2 separate regions of the Homo sapiens genome follow, and region 2 is linked to region 1. Evidence: promoter capture Hi-C in human tissues and cell types (Jung and others, 2019). All regions are on one chromosome and are shown on one strand. Each heading gives the region's core, a stretch centred on a gene start or on the middle of the fragment in contact. The rest is flanking DNA. Distances are from core to core; before and after follow the strand shown. Region 1 holds the start of LCLAT1 (lysocardiolipin acyltransferase 1). Region 2 overlaps YPEL5 (yippee like 5).

Region 1 (6,465 bases), core at 2,125-4,624:
AGTGGAGATCAGCTTTAAAACTAGAGAAACCATCAGTGATTACTTCCATATTACAATGATTTCTGTACAAATATATTCAAAACCTAAAGTAAAAAGAAAAAAATTCTAACACCCATTATCCTAGCATTTTTGTAGCATAAAGTGGAAGCTATGCATCTAATCGAGATCCTTCTACAGTTCCCACTGCCCGCAGGAGAGTTCCCACTCTCTTAGCTAAGAGTTCACAACCTGGCTCTAACCTTTCCTGGCTTCTCTCCCAGCAACACCTGTAATACTGTGGTCTGACCCCTGGACACCATGAGCTCTCACTTGTCCTAGCTTTGCTCTGTTTCTCCCTACGCCTTTATCCTCCAGTTAGCTCCCTTCCTCTTCTGGCCAGGCCCATCCCAGAAGAAGTAACTGTTCCCTTTTATGTGCTCTCACAGGTCTCTGTACCCACAATTATATTTGAGTCCTTATCATGCTTTATTAGTTAATCATTTATTTATTTGTCTCAACTGTCTACAAACTTCTGGACCTGGGACTTCTCCCTGAACTCCTCAAGGGTAGGGTCAGGAGTTAATGTTTACATCCTAAAGACTTGGCAGGGCTATTCCATAAAGGTTCAATGAAACAATAAATGTCCTAGCCACTTTTACTCATCCTATTTTATTAATAAATAAAGACTGGAAAAATTAGCACAAGTATATCAAAACAACAAGCTTAACTAAAATCAGTTTTCTTTTAAAAGTCCCCCAGCAAATTATTCTTTTAAAAAATGTAATAAAAACAAAAATCCCAATTATTGATTTGTGCTTCCTGATAGAAATTAGTCATAACTAGCCAGGCACAGTGGCTCACACCTGTAATCCCAACACTTTGGGAGGCTGAGGCAGGCGGATCACCTGAGGTCGGGAGCTCAAGACTAGCCTGACCAACACAGAGAAACCCCGTCTCTACTAACAATACAAAATTAGCCAGGCGTAGTGGCACATGTCTGTAATCCCAGCTACTCAGGAGGCTGAGGCAGGAGAATCGCTTGAACCCGGGAGGCAGAGGCTGTGGTGAGCCGAGATCGTGCCATTGCACTCCAGCCCTGGCAACAAGAGCGAACCTCCCTCTCAAAAAAAAAAAAAAAAGAAATTAGTCATAACTCTGTTTCAAAATAACTTTTTAATTAATGGGCAACACAAGTAAGAAGAATATACCACTTAACCAAAGTAAATGTAATTGTTACCACACAAATCACTATTGGACGCCAATGGAATAAACCATGATTATTATTTACACAAGATCACAAACAAAACTACTGGCTTGAAATATGTGTTCATTCTAGGACATTGCTAGAGCCTTTGAAAAAGAAAAATATATATATTAAAAATGAAAAATTTGTACATGAATTAATGTTTCCCCTTAATACATAACACATCTGTATGTCATAGGAAGATAGTAGGCATGGTGGTAGTAAGACAGTAAGAACACAGGCTGGAAACACAATGCTAATTGTGTGATATGGACAAATTACTTAAACTTCAATGTGCTTCAGTTTCCTCATCTGCAAAATAAAGATAATAAATGTATCCGCCTCACAGTGATGCTAGATGACTGAGTTGGCACATATAAGTCCCCGGATTCAGTGCCTGGCAGAGTACATGAATGCAGAGGAATAAATTTCAAATATTTTCACTGTTTTTTTAACTTTTTAAAGCCCTTTCACACATACTGTCTTTTCTTTTTCCTCCCAACAGTGCAATGAGATTGTTTGAATAAGAAATACTCACTTTAGAGATAAGACACCAATAGTGAAGTTGTATGATTACCCTAAGATATTTTTAAGTGGCAGAGTTTGGACTAGAATCCACCCATAACCTCAACCCCAGGACAAACTGACCAAATCTCCATGGATCCAGTTTGGAAGAATCTTTTGGGTTTTCCCCATTGCTTCCTCCTGGTTGTCAGCAACAGCCAGCCTAAAGACCTGGTGGGGGCAGATGCAGACGACCATGTGTTCAAATTAAAAAGTAGGAGAAGCCTAGCTTTCACAGAAACTGACACATAGTTGGCACTCCAGAGATTGCAGCTATTGATGACTGAAACACAAGCGCTATTACGTTTTTCTCAGTTACAGAACAAGGTACTACTCCATAAAATCAAGCCTACTACCAAAAACAAAAGTCAGTTAACATTATGCTTATCTGTCATATCAAGCATATCAAAGTACAATGTGCAACAGAAACCTAAACGAAAAAGTGATGATGTATTTTTACTTACTCTCAAAAAATATGTTTTACAAAAAGGGCTTTCATCAAGTCAGTTTTTTGAAAACTAACCCACGTAGTTATACTTCATGAGATGACGTTTCTTTGAACAAATAAGTTAATGATATGAATAAATATTTCATCTTGGTAATGCCTTCAACACATATCTTCAATACTTTTCTTGGACTTAAAGTGACTTCAATCCCTAATCTCATCTACTGCCATGTACACAAGAAACACAGTTAATGAACTTTAAAGGCAGATGCAGTATTTCCAGGGAAGCCACCTGAACCAGGGAAGTACAAGAAAGCAAAACATCTCCACAACCACATCTAAGTGCCTTATCTTTCAACTTCTTTTCTTCAAATGGGCAATTAGAAGCTACGATACACCTTAAAGATCAGGTTTGGCATCCGCCCTGGCTAGGGCCTACCTTTCTTTTCGCGGCACTGCCACTCTGGCACCTACAGGCAGGCCTTTGGCGCCTGCAGGACTCGCAGGGAAGACAACCCCAGCCCCTGCTCTCCACGGCTCTCGTCGAAGCCCCGCACGTGGTGACCACTTGAGACGTTTTAGTGCATGGGATTTAACAGGGTCAGACCTCAGGTTGCGTTCCGGGACAGTGCAGCTCCCAGACCCGCTGAGGTCGCAGGAGGAAGGTTTTGACGCTCCTAGCGTAAACACCGACGGGACCCTCTTCGCCCCGCGGCTACCTCGCCCTCGCCGCTCGCGCGGCCCCTCAGCACCTGACGCCTCAGCCAGCCTCCAGGAGTCGCTTCCCCGCGCCTCCTTCCACCTGAGCCAGCGACGCTACCGCCACCTGCACCGGGACCCCAAATGCCAGGCCAGTGGCCGTTACCCGAGGTCGCGGCCCGGGGAAGGTCCATGGCTCAGGAGGAAAAGCCCGGGCTGCAGCTCCCCTTCCTGCACCTCTGAGATCCCCCGGCCGCCGCCATTTTCCTCGCGCCGTAACCCCACCTGATAGTTCCAGCCTCCCACCTGTGACAAGCAGGGCACGCCGCGCGACGCCGAGTGGGGTGCGTGGGCAAGCTGGGGCTCCGTAGGGGTCACAACCTCCGTGCGGAACCCGCCGTTAATTCATCCCGTAACGCGGAGGCGTCCGGCCGTCGCCCTAGTAATGCGTCCCGGAAGGCTACGTCCTGATTGGCTGCAGGCGCCGTGACGCAACGGCGTCCCCGGCTGCGTGGGAAACCCGGGTCCCCGGCGCCCCGCGCTTGCTCCACAGCCCGGGATACCCCGGGTACCTTTCTTTGAGAGCTCCTTTAAAGAGGCCTCGCTTATTTCCTCGTCTGGCCTCCTGGAGAGGAGGGACCCACGGAACGGTGGGGTGTAGGGGTGAGAAAACAACGAAATAGGAAATTAGCGGAGGTCATTTGTCCGAGGGAACCTAATGGTTCATTCAACCCCTAGAGCTGCAAAATGGAAAACAGAAATCTGGGAGTTTAATTTACAAGCCTAAATTTGGTGCGCGAAGTCACAGGACAAATCAGTAGTAGAAGCAGTTATAGAACCCAGGTTCCCTGATCAGGAGCACAAAGTTTTTCTAGCACACTCAGTGTTTCCCCAGTCCTAGAAAATGTTTCCTCCCAGTTCCCATAGCAATTTCATCACACTGCTCTTAAAAGGTCTCGATCACCTATCATGGTGTGTCTGTCCTGTCCCCTAACCTACTAGATTGCATGCCCCTGAATGGTGGGGACTGTGGTTAAACCCCTTTTCATTTCCCTTAAGCAATTCCCTCCTCAACTTGGCCTTCAACAAATACAATAAGAATCTTAAAAATAATAAACATAGCTACACATCACACACAGCCACTCATCAGTAGTTCATGTATGTCTATACGTTTTATCCGTTTATTCAACAAAGCACAGAGTGAATATTTTTAAAATTACAAGGTTCCTGACCTCACAAAATTTATGGTGTAATAATAATGACCATCTACATGTTGGCTGCATAGCTTCAATATAGCTAAATTATATCCCCAAATTGCCTGTAAATCAAAGATTCTTGTGCTCTTTTCCTAAATTAGCTTCATAATTTCTCTAAGTTTGTTCCAAAACATTTTAATATTTAAGATGTGCTAAAATTGCATCAGAAAGTGAAGAATGACTACAGAGAGAAACACCAGAACAAAAGTCAATTCTGCCAATTATGCCTATGACTTTAGGCCTCCTTTTTACCTTTAAAATAAGATTACTGGAATAAAAGATCTCCCAATTCTTTTTTGTTGTTGTTAAGAGTTGGCCTGGCTATGCTCCAGAACCTTCAAGGGCTCTACTGTGGTTCTTTGGGGGCTTGCCGGAGGTTCCTCATAGCCTTTGCAGCTCCATTGCAGAGAGCTCTAGCATTGTGAGGTGTGTCCGGTGATACAGCCCAAGAGGCAAGGTTGCCCTTACCGCCCTAACCACAGAGGACAGTGCTGGGCTCTTTCTTTTTTCTTTTCTTTGCTTTTTTTTTTTTTTTTTTTTTTTTTGAGACAGGGTCTCGCTCTGTCACCTAGGCTGGAGTGCAGTGGCATGATTGTGGCCCACTACAACCCCTGCCTCCTGGACTCAAGCAATCCTCCCACCTCAGCCTCCAGACTAACTGGAACTACAGGCATCTGCCACCATGCCCAGCTAATTTTGTGTTTTTTGTAGAGACAGGATTTCAACATGTTGCCAGGCTGGTCTCGAACTCCTGAGCTCAAGCTATCCACCCACCTTGGCCTCTCAAAGTGCTGGGATTAGAGGCTTGAGCCACCGCGCCTGGCCCTGAGCCCGTTCTTGATCTGAGCTACTGATCAGTAGCCACCTTCCACGTCAACTGCTAAAGGGATAGGAACAGAATTCCCAAGGGCAAAATATGCTGATTTCTAAACTCAGAGATCTGCTAAGTGTCATGCTTCTTTCTTTTTGGCAGAGGTGCAAGGTGTAGTAACATGTTTTTCATTCTGGGGAAAATGTCTTGACGTGCCCAAGATCATTGGACCACTTCAGCATCCAAAATGATGTATAGTTTACATAATGCTATTGTACCAGGATCATTCTTTGTTTTGATACATGTTCTATGCTTACACAAGATGTTGACATAAGGGGAAGCTAGGTAAAGAATATATGGAAAAATCCCTGTACTCTCTTTACATCTCTCCTAAGTCTAAAACTACCCCCCCAGTTTTTTAAATAATTATTTTAAAATATCACCAATGTAGCAAGCTCCTGAATTTTTGTGGGGTTTATCCGCGTCTGAAATGTATGTATTTCATCAAGACATCCAGAGAAGTAGTCCCCGACCTTTTTGGCACCAGGGACTGCTTTCGTGGAAGACAGTTTTTCCATGAACGGGGTGAAGGGTGAAGGGGGTGATTTCGGGATGATTCAACCACATTACATTTATTGTGCACTTTATTTCTATTATTATTACATTGTAGTATATAACACTTAAAAAGTGGTGTTAATCTGTGCTCTACTGTCCCAAAGGGACAAGTTTCTCAATCTTTCCTGACCCCAGTAACAGAGCATCACAGCTGATGAATTGCTGAACCTCATGAGCCATTGACTTAATGGTCACATTTAATAGGGCACTCTCTGTAATGCTCAGGGACACACTATGACATACAGGAAATCTCAAGTCCTAGTTCTTATTGTACTTTTGTCATTATTGGGGTACTTTCTATGCCCATGTAATTGCTCACTCCTCTTCAAAATGTGAGAGTAATAAGGGAAAATCTGTGCTCAATAACAGACCTCAGAAAAGAGCCAAGTACATTGCCGCCAATAAAATCGGAGCAAGTCTCTCCCAAGGTAATGAATACAAGCAACATGCAGCCCAGTGCCAGCAGAGGCCACAGATACTTAACTGGAGGCCCAGAGTGGCCCATTTATTATAGCCTACAGTTTATTGCTTGCAAGCAAGAATTGCAAAATTTCTTTTGCAATTCCCTCTTTGCAAAAATTTCTATGAATGAGACTTAGCATTACCTAATATCACCAGTCATCCAACGAGATTCTGAAATTCAAAAGGCATTTGAAATGAAATGTTTTAATTTCTTGAGACATGGAGTAAGCCATGTCTTTGGTAGCTGAGGAGTTTTGGTGCTAGAAGGTACAGCTTGGAAGTAGTGACAAATTTACATTAGCACAAAACAGCTGTGGAGTCTAATTATTAATAGTTCTGATTATTCTCTTTTTGCTCCATCTCTCCCCTTCCCCGTTCCCCACCCCCATCT
Region 2 (6,465 bases), core at 1,998-4,497, 290 kb after region 1:
CAGTTTATCTAATTGGTGTATTAATCCATTTTAAGACACTTTTTAAAGCAGATGGAAAGCCATATTAATCTGTTTTTTTTTTTCTTACCCATACTTCTTAGCCTATCAGCCTCTTGTGACATAGGCTTTTATCAGGTGGTAACATACCACAACTGTATTTTCAATAACCCTTTGAATAATGATTCTCATGTATTAGCAGATGTTTTGTAGCAGCAAGGTTGTATGAGGTGCCCATGAAAATGGGGCTCTCTTAACTATAGCACTGGCCATGACACGGGTAATGGGCATACATGGTGGGTGACTATCGGGGTCATCATAAAGCCAGTCCCACATGGCTTGCACATGAAGTATATTAGCTGCTTTATCTTGGGTGTTCTGCTTGGCATTTATAGGGGAAGTTGGACAGTCCCCATTCTCAGGGTAAACAGATCTTACAGTGGCTTTTTAAATCCAGTCCCCCAGACTAGCTGTTCCTCAAGAATAACCTCCTATGTGTCTGGATCATGTTTAGCCATCTGCAATCTTTCAATAGTGAGCTGTGGGTCCTCCATCAACCCAAACATTTCTTCCATTCTGCAGCATTTAAAACAAAAGATACTGCCCCTAAATTACTCTCATAGTCCATTTTAGTAAAGGTTCCTCAGGAAACTAATGATATGGATCTATGAAATGTAACAAATCCTTGTACATTATACCTTCTGGTTTCAAGTTACTTGGTTTTGCCTTTCCCCGACATTGACTACCTTCTTGGTAACCACAGATCTGAGAGGTATTTTGTTGTTGCTGCTTAACTTTGCCCTTGTGGGTAGCTCTGAGGCTAGTGGCTGAAGCTCAGCCTGAAACCTAAGCTTGGTGCAGCATCAAAGTTGGACCCAGCACTCTGTTTCATTTTAGCTATTATAGATAATAACCAAGGGATTGTAGAGTTCACTTTTCTTATTAGCTTGCATTTCCTTATGCATCCAGTCAATCACCTCTCTACGAGTTGGATCTATCTCTAAATTTTACTGGTAGTAACTGAGTGCAGCTGCAGCTCTATACCATGGGTGGCCATGTGGCCACCCAGGAATCAAAGGTTTCTGACCCATCACATTTCCATCATTTTTCTTGTCCACCTTTCTAAGCCAGGGCCCTTCTAGCAAATCCCACCTGTCTGATAGCAATCGGTAATCAACTTGACCTGCAGCCCCTTTCCCCTCCCGGGAGGTTGCTCTGTGAGGCTGAAAGCACCTCACCTTTAATCATGCCTGTATCTTTCCCGTGACCAGCTCTACCCTGGCTATCAGTCAATATTAGCATACAAAAAGATAATCATTTGAAAATTCCAAGGATTTTAGGGATTGTATTGCTAGGAAATGGAGACGAAGACCAGGAGACCAAATACGTATTTCACAGTATCAAAGAAACATGTTACTTTTGGAGTTTGGCAAAACAAAAAAACAAAAAAACAAAAAAAAAAAAACTGGATTTTTGGCTCCACCCGAGACCCATTCAGTACTGGGGAAGGGAATGAGAACATAATTGACATGTTTAACAAGCCTCCCAGGTGGTTATGCTGCAGATGATTTTTAAAACCTAAATATGTAAAGTGATGCCTAGGATTATACAACCCTGAACGATGCTTTGGAATGTGTATTTTATGCTTTACCACAGAAATTTCAATTTGAGAAGCCCAATATTTTAAAATAAGCCATACAATTAACACCCAACTTAGAATATCCACCCTAATTTCTGCTTAGTTCTGCTTTCTTCCTATAATAGATCTTATCAGTGCAACGTGCTAGCCTGATAAGAATCCTTCAGTTTAATCTTGCTTTATTCCCAACTCACACAGATTAGAAGTAAATTTATATGGCTCCTGGTAGGAAACAGGTGTTAAACAGATGAACAATTAGTGGATATCTGTTTAAACTGAGATTTTTTTATAACTGATGTTTAGAAATGAATCATCATAAACATGTCTGAATATTTTACAACTGGTAGTTTCTTAATTCTGCCCCACCAAAAATTACCTGTTGACTGACTTAAGCCTGGGCTTGGGCCCAGACTCTGATTTAAACATCCTATATGACTTTATGAGTAGGCAAATTTAGGAAACAGATGGTACTGATATTTTTCTCCTCCAATCCCAAAGTAACAACTCCTAACTGTAACTTAAATCTTCACATAATTACTAAAATTATTTTTACCAGGAATGTTCACTTGAGAGTCTAAATAAAAGCACTTTAAGATCAAAACAACTTACGGTTACTGTCACCTAAGACTAAGAGGAAGAATTTTCCTCTTCGGTCAGGGGAAAAAAAGCTTAAATCTGTATATTCCTCAGTAACCTACTTAGTTCTAAGTTCACCTCTACTTGTTTAACTCTCCCACCCCAAAGCAAAAATCATTCCTATTAATTAGTATCCCCATCTCAAAATAACAATGGTTTTCTGTAAATAATCCAAAGTAGACCTTCCAATATATATTTTTTTTTTTTTTGCAAATGGAAGTTTTTAAAAGGCACAGAGGAGCTTGCTGCTGGTACCTGCCAGTTACCTAAAAGTTAACCTAGTAATATGAAATTTTTTTGTTTATATATACTGAACTATAGTTATCAGTATCTAAGGCAAAATGATCTCAGAGAAGTTAATACTGGCAAAGTCAATGTCTTCATGTGTGAATTAGGCAGTTAATCAAGTCAGACATCACTATCATTGCCAAATGAAGAAAGCTACAGGTACTCAAAGATACCAAGTATGTGTTCAGAGATAAAAATTAAGATGATCACTAGACAAGATCAGTGGAAAATAAGCAGCAGTACTGCATCAATGCAAGACAAAATATACTTTATTGTGACAGCAAATGCACATAGTGCTGTAGGTAAGGCATGCTACTAGGAATCTGCATATAATCAAAAGCCAGTATGGAAATGAATGGAAATGAATGCTGTTGTTCTCAGATTGAGTCCATGGTGGAGAAAGGATAGTTTGTGTCCACTTATTTCAAATGCAGTATCATACCTACTTAATCAGTTACCTATGCTTCTAACCAACAGCCCAGTGGCAAATAGGAGGAACTTAACTGTACTCAGAAGTCACTTTTAATATCAACGACAGAAATATTTCACTAATTCAACTGAGGCAAATTTCCTTTCTAGACAAAGGACCTAGAAATTGAGCATGCAAAACATCCATCCATTCATTCATTCAAATAATTAGCCAATTTTACCGTCATTTAATTCCACCAGAAGCAAATACTAGAATATCTAGAAGTAGTTTGGGTAAAGAAACATTTACATTTTAATATTGTGTAATGTCATAAATTTGGGGCTAAAATAACACCAGGTCAAATTTGATCCCTTTGTATGTGAGGGTACAAAGTACAGTTTTCGTTTCAACAGCTGAACTTCTGAGAGAAGAGCTGAAAAAAATGCTAAATAAGAGATCTAGGCCTTTGATGGAAACTATTAGGCTCTACAGACTTGTCAAAAAATCAATGCAAAACTGAGGGGGAAAGGCTGAAATGCTTTGTAAAGCAGTATTTTTAGACAAGTTGCTTCATTTCCCCCTTTTCTAAAACAGATGCAGATTAAATGTTTTTTTGCATGAATGCACATTGACATTCTGTTCAACTGTTTTCTAAATGCAACACTGCGGGTTTCAACAGTATGCTTTCATTTAAACAAAGAATATTATATGCATGGTCAATTTAGTTTAAGAGATGAAAAAAAACTTTACTACTATGAAAATTGCTTATCAAATACTCTCCTCTTTTATAAGGTGTTTTTAAAAGCAACACAGGACCAAAAGCATCCAACTATTACTTTATTTATATTACTATGCTTAAGTTACATGGAAAAAGACAACCCAGCAGTTCTGTCCCATCTCAGAAAAAGTTTCCAATCAACACCAATTATGTGGTGACAAATAACTAGGAATGGTGACATCTTTGGGCCAAGACTGACAAGGAAGAATGGGCTCTGGTGCTACGGTTCATCTCCAACAAGAATATGGCACACCGGCCAGCACAAGCCATGCTAACACTGAGCCTTTAGCGCTGGGCACAGATTCGGATCTCTTCTCTGAAGCTAGCAAATCAAGTGAAATAACTGGGTTTAAAAAAAAAAGTTTAAAATGAAGCCCAAGTTTAAAAACCATACTCCTAACATTTTCCTTTCACAATTGACATAAAACACACTTTTTCACTCTAACAGCCCAGATTTTTTTCCTTACATAGCTCACCACATAGCTGCAGACAGACTCTGCTGCCTCAAGATGTAAACATAGGGTAAAAAATTAACGGCATCTGCATAATATTCTCTCTACACACTGCTGTTGGATGGAAAATACAAAATTTAAAAAAAAAGAAAGAAAGAAAGAAAGGTTCCATCTTAGATTCTCACAACCTCTTGTTCCGCAGTTCATTAATCCGACTCTGATGCTAAGGTGACAGTGTATGTAAGTAGATTTTTGTTTTCAGTGAAGGAGACCTGGGAAAAGATGGATTTCTCTCTGTATCTTCAAGAGTTATCAGATGGTACATGCTCCTCAAAGCCCTCACTCTCTCGAACTAGAGCACGTTCCAGGATCACGCGGCCTTCCTTATATCGCTGGCTGTCTTCAGTGGCAAACTCATAGATCCATCCCAGTTTGCTATTGCAGTTTTTGCAGCTCACATCTCGAACCATGTGGCGGCCAGTGAGCATGACCCGATCTTGAACTTCACTGTACTGCAGGTTAACTACCTAACAAGGGACAAGGAAAATCAAAATTGCAAGGCATGTTAGTTATTTGCCAAGTATGTACAAAATATTATGGTTAATGCAACAGCAACTTCAGAAAAGGAGAAAGAACTTGTTAGTTTAGTCAAACCTATAATACGCAAGACTTATTTATTAGAAGCTGCTGGGGCAGGCAGACATCTGGAAATTGCACTACACTAGACATCTAATGCAATCATGCACTACCGTACTAGCCTAAGTCACACTATTTAAACATACTAGTTACATTTCTGTGTTGCAGGTAAGAAAAAGTCCTGGAATTGGAGCCATAAAATGTAGGTTTGGGTCCAGTTGTAGTAATTCATCATTATTCAATGATGAGTGCAAATAATACAATCCATGTAAAAGAACCTAATGCACCATAGTTATTCCATAAAACAGTCTGTCAGTTTGTTTCTGAAAATATACTGTATATATAGACTGGGACAGATTAAGCCTACTAAAGACCATACATCTGCAGTACATAGTTTTAAAGTGAATTCAAAGACAATGAACACAATGAAGTGGGTCTGAGACAATGTGTAATGAATTTCCACTGATTCTGAATACCCAACAATCTTCTACACTTTCCTTTTCTGTAAAGGGCCAGATAGTACATATTTCTGGCTTTGACGGCTATGTGGTCTTTGCTGCAACTTTTTAACTCTGGCACTGTAGCATGAAAGAAGCTGTAGACAATACGTAATGCACAAGCAGAGCTGTGTTCCATTACATTTACCAAAACAGGCAGCTGTCCTGCTGCAGTGTGCCCTCCTCTGTACCAAAATAAATGTCAAAGAGTATGAGCCATCAATTCTGAGAAAAGCTGCTTCTACATGGAACAGAGGAGTGCCCACTGGGGAAGTTCATCTGATCTTCTAAGAACAGTACCCTAGACTAGCTATGTTCCTTAGCCTAAAATACTTGGAAATTCAACTTTTCTATTATATACCAGATTCCGGGAGGCAGAATCACGGCATCCAATTTGAAAGCAAGCCAGAAATTAGAGAGACAGGCAGACTGGGCACACACTTGCAAATCAGAAAAACACTCTTCCTGTCAGCAAATCCATGGAAGGATGATTGGTGAGCATGAATTAGAGCATGAAAAGTTGGTTAGATGATCGTTATTCGCTGTCAAGTTATAATAGTTTAACGCCACCATCTCCCTATATGGATAAACCAGTGACATGTGGAGAAAGGGAGGTGGGTATCTTGACCTGTTCCTTCCATAGTCTGTGCTGAAGTTGCTACCAAATTCTTACACTGAACATTTCCTGAGGCAACAGAGATCACACTTCTTTATACTTTTTTTTTTTTTTGAGACTGAGTCTCACTCTGTTGCCTAGGCTGGAGTGCAGTGGCGCTATCTCGGCTCACCACAACCTCCGCCTCCCAGGTTCAAGTGTTTCTCCTGCCTCAGCCTCCCGAGTAGCTGGGACTAGAGGCACACACCACCACGCCCAGCTAATTTTTGTATTTTTAGTAAAAATGGTGTTTCACCATGTTGGCCAGGCTGGTCTTGAACTCCTGACCTCGTGATCTGCCCACCTCGGCCTCCCAAAGTGCTGGGATTACAGGCATGAGCCACTGTGCCCAGCCTACTTCTTCAAACTTCCAAGGTTAAAATCACATCCTAGTAACACCTTCCTAAGGTCCCATCAAAGACGAGCTAGTGGGCAATCATTTCTGTAGATTTCAAGCTCTCATTCTGACTCTTCCTGG

Evidence for each region. The method cuts DNA at HindIII sites, captures the fragments that hold promoters and counts their contacts. A contact is called where the count stands out against the background at its distance.
Region 2: a contact is called between a fragment that was not itself captured here and the fragment with the promoter of LCLAT1 in region 1, in 1 of the 25 tissues and cell types used here (thymus).

What each region holds. Positions count from the first base shown.
Region 1 is chr2:30,444,155-30,450,619 of GRCh38, reverse strand. LCLAT1 (lysocardiolipin acyltransferase 1) reads right to left here and starts at 3,374. Exons shown (of 6, transcript NM_001002257.3): 1 at 3,237-3,374. RefSeq lists enhancers at 2,210-2,946, 3,144-3,263, 3,474-3,533, 3,574-3,643, 2,947-3,684. The HindIII fragment of the contact is 9,254 bases long and covers 1-6,465 here.
Region 2 is chr2:30,156,880-30,163,344 of GRCh38, reverse strand. It overlaps YPEL5 (yippee like 5), which reads right to left. Exons shown (of 3, transcript NM_016061.3): 3 at 2,812-4,726. The coding sequence ends at 4,502. Among named protein-coding and RNA genes, the nearest start is that of YPEL5, 13 kb to the right of the region's middle. The HindIII fragment of the contact is 3,341 bases long and covers 1,577-4,917 here.